Linked DNA regions of Homo sapiens: region 1 is linked to region 2. The links are contacts of gene promoters, found by promoter capture Hi-C in human tissues and cell types (Jung and others, 2019). All regions are on one chromosome and are shown on one strand. Each heading gives the region's core, a stretch centred on a gene start or on the middle of the fragment in contact. The rest is flanking DNA. Distances are from core to core; before and after follow the strand shown. Region 1 has its middle 3.8 kb from the start of TRT-CGT4-1. Region 2 holds the start of RNF135 (ring finger protein 135).

What was found. Contacts are between HindIII fragments. The study calls those that stand out against the background at their distance.
Region 1: a contact is called between a fragment that was not itself captured here and the fragment with the promoter of RNF135 in region 2, in 1 of the 25 tissues and cell types used here (mesendoderm cells).

What each region holds. Positions count from the first base shown.
Region 1 is chr17:31,543,553-31,549,073 of GRCh38, forward strand. No RefSeq gene overlaps it. Among named protein-coding and RNA genes, the nearest start is that of TRT-CGT4-1, 3.8 kb to the right of the region's middle. The HindIII fragment of the contact is 7,091 bases long and covers 1-5,521 here.
Region 2 is chr17:30,966,876-30,972,606 of GRCh38, forward strand. It overlaps RNF135 (ring finger protein 135), which reads left to right and starts at 4,164. Exons shown (of 5, transcript NM_032322.4): 1 at 4,164-4,570. The coding sequence starts at 4,199. RefSeq lists enhancers at 3,300-3,389, 3,450-3,509, 3,578-4,139, 3,790-4,039, 4,140-4,701 and 1 more and a silencer at 4,120-4,659. The HindIII fragment of the contact is 16,210 bases long and covers 1-5,731 here.

The sequences.
Region 1 (5,521 bases), core at 733-3,232, 570 kb after region 2:
ATCCCAGCACTTTGGGAGGCTGAGGCGGGCGGATCACGAGGTCAGGAGATTGAGACCAGCCTGGCCAACATGGTGAAACTCCATCTCTATGAAAAATACAAAAATTAGCTGGGTATGGTGGTGGGCACCTGTAGTCCCAGCTTTTCGGGAGGCTGAGGCAGGAGAATCGCTCGAACCTGGGAGGCGGAGGTTGCAGTGAGCCAAGATCGTGCCACTGCACTCCAGCCTGGCGACAGAGTGAGAATCAGTCTCAAAAAATAAATAAGAAATAAATGAATAAATAAGTGGCCACATATTCTCCAAAAAGTCTCAAGTTGCATTGACTTTCCCTCCTATTAACAGCACCTTAATTTAGACCTTTTCTGGTGGCTGTGAAATTTGATCAAAGGGAAAAGTGTCAGGTGTTACTGTACCAAAGGCAGAAGGGTCAAGCTGGCATTTCATTCCGCTGTTCACTTTAGCAGTGGATAATGAATCTTGCTCAATGTATAATTAACACAGGGCTGTAGCTAATGGCTAACTCTCCCATTTTGTAGATGAGGAAACAGACTAAATGGAGGCTGAAGGGACACTGTACATGGCCTCTGCCAAAGTTACCCTGCATCACTAACTTTTGCCTACTCCATACAAATAACCAGCAGCCCACAAACCTAGAATGGAAAGGTGTGTAAGCTGTATATGGCCTCCTGTATCAATGAACTATTGCTTCTATGTAACAAACCACCCTCAAATCCTAAGGCATACAATGATTTATTACCTTCCTGATTCTGTGGTAGGCTGGCAGTTCCTCTGCTGGGTGTGCCTGGGCTCGATCTTGCAGCTGCATCCAGCTGAGGCATCAGCTGAGCTGGAAGGTCCCAGATGGCTACCTGACATGTCTGGCAGACGGTGCTGGCTGTTAGCTGGAATGACCCTCGGGGCCTCTCAACCTTCAGTAGCTAGACTGCCTTTCTTCCACAGCATTCTCAGGGCAATTTCCTAAGACAGTGGAGGCAGAAGCTGCCTCTCTTGGGGCCTTAAGCTTCAGAACTTACATAACATCACTTTTGCCACATTGTTTTAGTCAAAGCAAGCCCCATGGCCAGCCTGTACCAAAAAGTGGGAGAAGAGACTCCACCTCTAGGTGGGAAAAGCTGCAAAGAATTTGTGACTGCATTTAAGCTATCCCACTTATTTATGAGACGGAGTCTGGCTCTGTTGCCCAGGCTGCAGTGCAATGGTGTGATCTCAGCTCACTGCAACCTTCACCTCCCAGGTTCAAGCGATTCTCCTGCCTCAGCCTCCAGAGCAGCTGGAATTACAGGAACCCACAACCACGCCCAGCTAATTTTTTGTATTTTTACTAGAGATGGGGTTTCACCATGTTGGCCAGGCTGGTCTTGAACCCCTGACCTCAGGTGATACACCCGCCTGGGCCTCCCAAAGTGCTGGGATTACAGATGTGAGCACCGCACCAGGCAACCACCTATTTAAAACTGCAACCCGGGCCGGGCACGGTGGCTCATGCCTATAATCCCAGCACTTTGGGAGGCCGAGGCGGGCGGATCATGAGGTCAGGAGATCGAGACCATCCTGGCTAACACGGTGAAACCCCGTCTCTACTAAAACTACAAAAAATTAGCTGGGCGCGGTGGCGGGGGCCTGTAGTCCCAGCTACTCAGGAGGCTGAGGCAAGAGAACGGCGTGAACCCGGGAGGTGGAGCTTGCAGTGAGCTGAGATAGCGCCACTGCACTCCAGCCTGGGCGATAGAGCGAGACTCTGTCTCAAAAAAAGAAAAAAAGAAAAAAAAACAACAACAAAAAAACTGCAACCTGGCCAGGCGCGGTGGCTCACGCCTGTAATCCTAGCACTTTGGGAGGCCAAGGTGGGCAGATCATGAGGTCAGGAGATCGAGACCATCCTGGCCAACATGGTGAAACCCCGTCTCTACTAAAAAAAAAAAAAATACAAAAATTACCTGGGTGTGGTGGTGCGCGCCTGTAATCCCAGCTACTTGGGAGGCTGAGGCAGGAGAATCGCTTGAACCCAGGAGGTGGAGGTTGTAGTGAATTGAGATAGCGGCACTCTGCTCCAGCCTGGCGACAGAGCAAGACTCCATTTCAAAAAAAAAGCTGCAACTCTCCCCCTCCTGAAGAACATCCTAGCCTCCTTCCCTGCTGTATTTTTCTCCCTAGTACTTCTCACCAACTGATAGACTGTATGTTTTGCTTATTTAAGAATGGAAGCCCCATAAGGGCAGAGATCTGTGCTGCTTAGTTCACCGCTATAGCCCTAGCATTGAGAACAGTATTTGGCACACAGTAGATGCTCAATGATTTGCTGAAGGAATAAATGACTAGGTGCTCTTATGACCACGCTGTATGAAGGTGAGTAAGGCTTGATTCCTGCCCACTTGGAGCTCTGTGTTCCAGAACCAGCTCCTAGGCCTACCCAGCTGAGAAGTGGACCTGGGTGAACCCACAGTGACCCCACCAAAGGGCAACTACAATGTGGCCCAGGGTTGATAATGATTCATAGCAGGGGGTCAGAGAGGAAAGAATTCAAAAATTATTTTTCTTGTTATTTATTTATTTATTTTTTAAATGGAGTCTTGCTCTGTTGCCCAGGCTGGAGTGCAGTGGCACAATCTCGGCTCATTGCAACCTCTGCCTCCTGGGTTGAAGCAATTCTCCTGCCTCAGCCTCCCAAGTGGCTGGGACTACAGGTGCACACCACCACACCTGGCTAATTTTTGTAGTTTTAGTAGAGACAGGGTTTCACCATGTTGGTCAGGCTGGTCTTGAACTCCTGACCTTATGCGTGTCAGTCACAGAGACCAGCCCCGTTTTTGTAAAAGAGACTTTTTTTTTTGAGATGGAGTCTCACTCTGTTGTCCAGGCCAGGGTGCAATGGCATGATCTCGGCTCACTGCAACCTCTGCCTCCCAGGTTCAAGCAATTCTCCTGTCTCAGCCTCCTGAGTAGCTGGGATTACAGGTGCATGCCACCACACCCAGCTAATTTTTTGTATTGTAGTAGAGATGGAGTTTCACCATGTTGCCTAGGCTGGTCTCGAACTCCTGAACTTGGGTGACCCACCCGCCTTGGCCTCCCAAAGTGCCAGGATTACAGGCATGAGCCACTGCAACCGGCCTTGTAAAACAGACTTCTAAAGAGCAGTTTTAGGTTCACAGCAAAACTAAGCAGAAAGCAGAGTTCCCTATATACCCATGGCCGCCGTATCTCCCTAGTCTCCCCTGCCATCAACATCCTCCACTAGAGTGGTACATCTGTTACAACTGATGACCCTGCATTGACACATCATCATCCAAAGTACATAGTTTACACCAGGGTTCACTCTTGGTGTTGAACGTTCTATGGGATTTTTTTTTCTTTATTTTTCCCAGCCCAGAACCCCTCTATGGGTTTTGACAAATATATAATGATATGTATCCACCATTATATCATGCAGAATAGTTTTGCTGCCCTAAAAACTCTCTGTGCCCTATCTACTCATCCTTCCCACCCCTCAACCCCTGGCAACCATTGATATTTTTACTGTTTCCACAGTTTTGCCTTTTTTAGAATGTCATATAATACAGTATGTAGCCTTTTCAGTTTAGCTTGTCTCAGTCCGTTTTGTGCTGCTAAGACAGAATACCATAGACTAGGTAATTTATAATGCACAGAAATTTATTGGCTCGTGGGACTGAAGGCTGGGAAGCCCAAGATCGAGGAGCTGGCATTTGGTGAGGACCTTCTTGCTTCATCAACCCAGAGGCCGGGCAAAGAGAGGGTGGGAAGGCAAACTTCTTTTATAAGAAAACTACTTGCTCTATAATGAACCCACTCCTTTGAGAATGGCATTAATGCATTTATGAGGGTAGTGGCCCCATGACCCAAACACTTCCCACTAGGTCCCATCTCCAAGACCACCACATTGGGGATCAAGTTTCTAACACATGAACTTTAGGGGACACATTCAAACCATAGCAGTAGTATGCATTTTCACTTAGTAATATACATTGAAGATTCTTCTGTGTTTTTTTCATGACTTGGTAGTTCATTTCTTCCTTTTCACAGACTTAATTTTTCAGAGCAGTTTTAGATTCACGCAAAACTGAGCACAAAGTACAGAGAGCTCCCACATACTCTCTGCCCTCCCAACTGCACAGCTTCCCCTGAACAAGAGTTGTGCACTTGTTATAACTGATGAAAAGGTCCACTTTATTTTTTCTTGTGCTGTGTTGTCCAGGCTAGGGTACAGTAGCACAATCATAGCTCACTGCAACCTTGAACTCCTGAGCTCAAGTGATCCTCCTGCCTCAGCCTACCAAGTAACTAGGACTATAGGTGCTATCATGCCTGCCTTGTTTTAGTTTACTTTTTGTAGAGATGAGGTCTCACAATATCGCCCAGACTAGTTTCTAACTATTGGCCTCAAGTGATCCTCCCACCTTGGCCTCCCAAGGGAAGCCTGGGATTACAGGCATGAGCAACCATACCCAGCCTTTTGCCCATTTTTAAGTGAGTTGTTTGTTGTTGTCGAGTGGTAGGAGTCTAAATTTTATTTTGGATAGCAATTCCTTATTAGATATCTGATTTGCAATATTTTCTCCCATTCCACAGATTGCCTTTCATTCTGTTGTTTCCTTTGCTGTGCAGTTTTTATAAAGTCTGACTTGGTCCTATTTGTCTATTCTTGCTTTTGGGGTCATATCTAAAAAAATCATTGCCACATCTAATGTTGTAGACCTTTCCCCCTGTTTTCTTTCAGGATTTTTATAGTTACAGGTCTTATGTTTATGTCCTGAATCCATTTTGAGGTAATTTTTGTATATGGTGCTAGGTTAGGGTCCAACTTCATTCTTTTGCATGTGGATATGCGGTTTTTCCAGCATCATTAGTTGAGTCCAGAGATCCGCCTGCTTCGGCCTCCCAAAGTGCTGGAATTACAGGCGTGAGCCACCGCGCCTGGCCGAGTCCAGAGAGTTTTTAAAAGCATAGAGAGGAGGCCAGACACGGTGGCTCATGCCTGTAATCCCAGCACTTTAGGAGGCTGAGGCGGGTGGATCACCTGAGGTAAGGAGTTTGAGATCAGCCTGGTCAACATGATGAAACCCTATCTCTACTAAAAATACAAAAAATTAGCCGGGAGTGGTGGCAGGTGCCTGTAATCCCAGCTACTTGGGAGGCTGAGGCAGGAGAATTGCTTGGATCCGGGAGGTGGAGGTTGGAGTGAGCCGAGATCGTGCCATTGCACTCCAGCCTGGGCAGAGCAAGACTCTGTCTCCAGAAAAAAAAATCTGCACACAAATAAGGCTTAATTTGGCAGTGGTGGTGGCAGGGTGGCTGTCCCCAGCGAGCATGAGCCCTGCCCTGAGATAAGGGCTTCTCTTCCCCCACCCATGCAGACTCACCTCTCTCCTGGAACAGATGCTGTGGCCACAGGCCAAACAAGAACAGGGGGACCTAATTCCCCCCTTTATTTAATTTAAAGAAAATAAAAGATTTACCAAAAAAGTATACAGTATCCTAATAG
Region 2 (5,731 bases), core at 2,914-5,413:
TGACTTTTTTGCATATATCTCAAAAAGTATTCAACAAAATGAGTGACAATTTTGTCATCTATTTATACATGTGAACAAGATTTCTCGGCACACATAAAAACATAAAAGAAATAGAATTTATTGCAAAAGTTTGTCTATCATTAAGTAATGTTCATTCATAGATAAATGCTTCTTTTTTTGACAGAGTCTTGCTCTGTTGCCCAGACTGGAGTGCAGTGGTGCCATTTCAGCTCACTACAACCTCCGTCTCCTAAGTTCAAGCAATTCTCCTGCCTCGGCCTCTGGAGTAGCTGGGACCTCAGGCCACCATGCCCAGCTAATTTTTGTATTTTTTGGTAGAGGCAGGGTTTCACCAGGTTGGCCAGGCTGGTTTCAAACTCCTGACCTCAAGTGTTCCGCTCACCTTGGCCTCTCAAAGTGCTGGGATTACAGATGTGAGCCACCGTGCCTGGGCATAAATGCATTTTTGAAAGAAATGAGCCCATCTGTCTTATTAATAGCTATCATTCCAATAAAATGTTTACTGTCTTTAAAAGTTATTTTATTTATATAAAAGTTATAAATTGCAGCATACTTTTCTTTTGTTTGACTGCTAATAGTAATTATATTGATAATTAAATCCAGGGGAAAAAATTTACCAAGAGCCTTTTTGTCACAGGAAGTTAAGAAGAATTAAAAATTTAATACACATACATACTTTTGTTGTAGAGAAGTATTACAAAGTGATAAAAGACTTTCATGCATGAAATATATTGCTTTGGAATGTAATTCTGTGGAGGAAATGGAATGGAAATACAAGTTCAGAAAGATAAAAGAATGACAAAATTTCTTTTTTTTTTTTTTTGAGACGGAGTCTTGCCCTGTTGCCGAGGCTGGAGTGCAATGGTGCCATCTTGGCTCATGGCAACCTTCACCTCCCGGGTTCAAATGATTCTCTTGCCTCAGCCTCCTGAGTAGCTGGGATTACAGGTGCCTGCAACTACGCCCAGCTAATTTTTTTTTGTATTTTTCGAACTCCTGACCTCATGATCCGCCTGCCTCGGCCTCCCAAAGTCCTGGGATTACAGGCATGAGCCACCGCACTCGGCCAAGAATGACAAAATGTCTGATGTAGGCTGAGCGCGGTGGCTCACCTCTGTAATCCTAGCACTTGGGAGGATGAGGTGGGCGGATCACCTGAGGTCAGGAGTTCGAGACAAGCCTGGCCAACATGGAGAAACCCTGTCAACATGGGGAAACCCCATCTCTACTAAAAATACAAAATTAGCCGGGCATGGTGGCGAGCGCCTGTAATCTCAGCTACTCCGGAGGCTGAGGCAGGAGAATGGTTTGAACCCGGGAGGTGGAGGTTGCAGTGAGACGAGATTGTGCCACTCCACTCCACTCCAGCCTGGGCAACAAAGTGAGACTCCATCTCAAAAAAAAAAAAAATCTGATATAAATGAAGAATTTGCTAATATATTTTTACTACCAGAGCTGACCACTCTCCCCCTTCCCCCTTTCTTTCTTTCTTTTTTTTTTTTCTTTTGAGACAGAGTCTTGCTCTGTCGCCCAGGCTGGAGTGCAGTGGTGCGAACTCAGCTCACTGCAAGCTCCGCCTCCTGGGTTCAGGTCATTCTCCTCCCTCAGCCTCCTGAGTAGCTGGGACTACAGGCTCCCGCCGTCACGCCCGGCTAATTTTTTTTGTATTTTTTAGTAGAGACGGGGTTTCACCGTGTTAGCCAGAATGGTCTCAATCTCCTGACCTCATGATCCGCCCGCCTCAGCCTCCCAAAGTGCTGGGATTACAGGCGTGAGCCACTGCGCCCGGCCCCCACTTCCCCCTTTCTTATAACCACTGCATGATTTTGCATAAAACTTTTAGGGCGTGTCCAAGAAAAAAGTTTGAAAACTACTGGTTAACTCACTCTTTCCAGAAACTTGGCTGTGAAATGGAGAAGAGGAGAGCTGGTTCCAGGGAGGCTCAGGTCAAAGGTGATTTTATTTTATTTTTTAATTTTTAATTTTTTTGAGACTAGGTCTAGCTCCTTCCCCAGGCTGGAGTGAAGTGGTGTGATCACAGCTAACCACAGTCTTGACCTCCTGAGATCTCATGGCTCATTACAGCCTCCACCTCCCTGGCTCAAGCAATCCTCCCACCTCAGTCTCCTGAGTAGCTGGGATCACAGGCCTGCGCTACCATGTCTAGGTAGTTTTTGTATTTTTTTTGTAGAGGCAAGGTTTCACCATGTTGCTCAGGCAGGTCTCGAACTCCTGAGTTCAGGCAATCCACCTGCCTCAGCCTCCCAAAGTGCTGAGATTACAGGCATAAGCCACCACGCCCCGCCAGTGATTTCATTTTTTAAGTTGGAAGATCTGAGCATGTTTAAGTGTTTAGTATCATGCCCGTTTTACAGAAAAAAAGAGGCTCTTAGAAACTACGATTTTACTCCGATGCGGAGATTCTAGAACAAGATCCAGGTAATACATCAGTCAGGATAGGCTAGGTTATGCTGTAGCAGCACACACCCACTAAATCTCAGTAAGCTGAATACATCCTAGTTTTCTTCTCCCTCTTACTACGTATCCTAGGGTGCGTTGGCAGGGAGTCTGCTCATCTTAGCCACTCAGTGACCCAGGTCACCGGATGATGGTTTCATCTCCATAATTGGGGCAGCTGGCAGAAAGGGATACAATGGCCGGCTCAGTCGCCTTTAAAGCTGGTGGGAAGTAACATATTACCTCTGTGTGTTTCAAGTGGGTCAGGGAAGTGCCAGTCCTACCATGTGCCCAGAAAGGGAAAGCACTGGAAACGTTGATGAGCAGCGCTGCCTACTCCATGACACTTCCAGTATTAGAAATAACCACAAACGCTTTTTTTTCTTTCTTTTCTTTCTTTTTTTTCTTTTTTTTTTTTTTTTTTTTTTTGAGACGGAGTCTCCCTATGTCGCCCAGGCTGGAGTGCAGTGGCGCAGTCTTGGCTCACTGAAACCTCCGCCTCCCGGGTTCAAGAGATTCTCCTGCCTCAGCCTCCCAAGTAGCTGGGATTACAGGCATGCGCCAGGGCGCCTGGCTTTTCTTTTCTTTTCTTTTTGTATTTTCAGTAGAGATGAGGGTTCACCATGTTGGCCAGGCTGGTCTTGAACTCCTGACTTCAAGTGATCCAAAGGTCGGCTACAAACTTGTATTATCTGATACCTACTTTGAGCCCAGGCCAGAAAGGATAAAGTAAAGCATGAGACGTTGTTAGTTCATTTCAACAGATTGGGGAGTTGTGGGTTTTAGTCTCTGACGCTTCATTGTTACCATGAGAGCCTGCAAGTTTTTCTTTTTTCTCTTTTTTTTTTTTTTAACCTCTTTGGGTCATCTGGGAGGACGTGGTGCTCTTTTAGCTCTAACATTTTCTGGTTGCAATGCGTTTAGGACTGGGATGCGAAGTGAGTGAGTGAGTGAGCCTTCTCAGGAAAACACTTTCTAGAATTTTGTCCGAGTGTCTGTTGGGAAACGCGCTTACATCCCGCAGAAGGCGGTAAGGACACAGCGCACAACTCTGCATTATACCTGCGAGTTAAAAAGCCAAGGGTTCGCTCACTCAACCTTGAATGCGCGTCAGAATCACCTGGGGGAGGTTTTACAAAATACCCGTGCTCCACCCAAGACAATGAAATCAGACTCCCTGCGAGCGGGGCCGAACATCAGCATTTTTGAGGACGCTCCCTGTGGCTGTGCATCGGTGATCTTTAATCCCCTGCTACTTGTTAGAGGAGCTGGATGACACTTCGTGGGCTCATTCTCATAAATAAGCTGCTGAATGGAGTCCTCTCCTCCCAAGAGTTGTCGGTGTTGCATCTTTTTTGTTGTTTATTTTTTTTTAAGCCAACGGACGAAGACATCCAACGGTGCTGCATCTTAATGGAGGGACATCCAGCTAAAGGGAATCTTGGAGACCTCCGCGGGTTTCTAGCAGCTCGCGGCATGTTGGTTTCCCAGGGCAAGAGGCCGCCACTGAAGGTCAGCTCTGTCTTTCCAGCTGGGCACTGGAGGCTCTAAGTCTGTTTTCAGCAGGATCGGAGGAAGGAGACGGGGTGGCGCCAAGGAAGGAGGAGAAAAGGCGGCCGAGAAAAGGAGGAGGGCAAGGGGAAGAGGAAGGGCGAGGGAGGAGCCTGAGGAGACTCGCCCGGCTCAACCCCGACGTCCGCGCCCCGGCCGCCTGTTGGCCATGGCGGGCCTGGGCCTGGGCTCCGCCGTTCCCGTGTGGCTGGCCGAGGACGACCTCGGCTGCATCATCTGCCAGGGGCTGCTGGACTGGCCCGCCACGCTGCCCTGCGGCCACAGCTTCTGCCGCCACTGCCTGGAGGCCCTGTGGGGCGCCCGCGACGCCCGCCGCTGGGCCTGCCCCACTTGCCGCCAGGGCGCCGCGCAGCAGCCGCACCTGCGGAAGAACACGCTACTGCAGGACCTGGCCGACAAGTACCGCCGCGCCGCACGCGAGATACAGGCGGGCTCCGACCCTGCCCACTGCCCCTGCCCGGGCTCCAGTTCCCTCTCCAGCGCGGCCGCGAGGCCCCGGCGCCGCCCGGAACTGCAGCGGGTAGGGAGGCCGGGCCCGCAGCTCCCCTGGCTCCCCCGGGCTGCCCGCCGCCTGACCCTTTCCCATGTGGCTCGAACCCCTTTCCTCAGCCGTTCTACTTTTACGTTCCTTTTCTCAGTCTAAAAGTCGAGTTCCGCTCTTCGGAGGCACTTTGGAAAGTTCATAAAAGTATGAAGAAGTAGAAAAAAACAAATTCCCCATCTTCCGAAAGCTTGTCAACTTAGCTGTTACACAGCTTGGCATATTTCAACTTCTTCCCAATCGATCTTCGGTCTCTTTCTCTGAAACTTGTAAAATTGTGGTAAGATCTATATAACATTAAAACTGGCCATTTTAACCTTTTTCTTTATTTCTTTGAGACGGAGTCTCGCTCTGTCGCCCAGGCTGGATGGAGTGCAATGGCGTGCGTGATCTCGGCTCACTGCAACCTCCGCCCCCCAGGGTCGAGTGATTCTCTTGCTTCAGGCTCGAGAGTAGCTGGGATTACAGGCGTGCGCCATCACGCCCGGCTAATTTTGGTATTTTTAGTAGAGACGGGGTTTCGACATGTTAGCCAGGCTAGTCTCAAACTCTTGACCACAGATGATCCGTCCGCCTCGGCCTCCCAAAGTGCTGGGATTACAGTCATGAGCCACAGCGCCTGGCCTCATTTTAACCTTTTATTTTTTTGAGACGGAGTTTTGCTTTGTGGCCCAGGCTGGAGTGCAGTGGCGCCATCTTGTCTCACTGCAAGCTCCGCCTCCCGGGTTCACGCCATTCTCCTGCCTCAGCCTCCCGAGTAACTGGGACTACAGGCGCCCGCCACCACGCCTGGCTAATTTTTTGTATGTTTTTTTCTTTTTTTAAAAAATAGGGACGGGGTTTCACCGTTGTTAGCCAGGATGGTCTCGATCTTCTGACCTCGTGATCTGCCCGCCTCGGCTTCCTAAAGTGCTGGGATTACAGGTGTGAGCCACCGCGCCCCGCCTATTTTAACCATTTTTAAGTGTACAATTCAGTGACAAATTAGTTACATTTCCTGTTGTGCAACTATCACTTCTGTTTCCAAAACTGTTTCATCATCATAAACAGAAACTTTGTACTCATTAAGCAGTAACTCCTCATTTCTCCTCCCTCTAGCCCCTGCTCACATCTAAGCTACTTTCTGTATCTGAGTTTGCC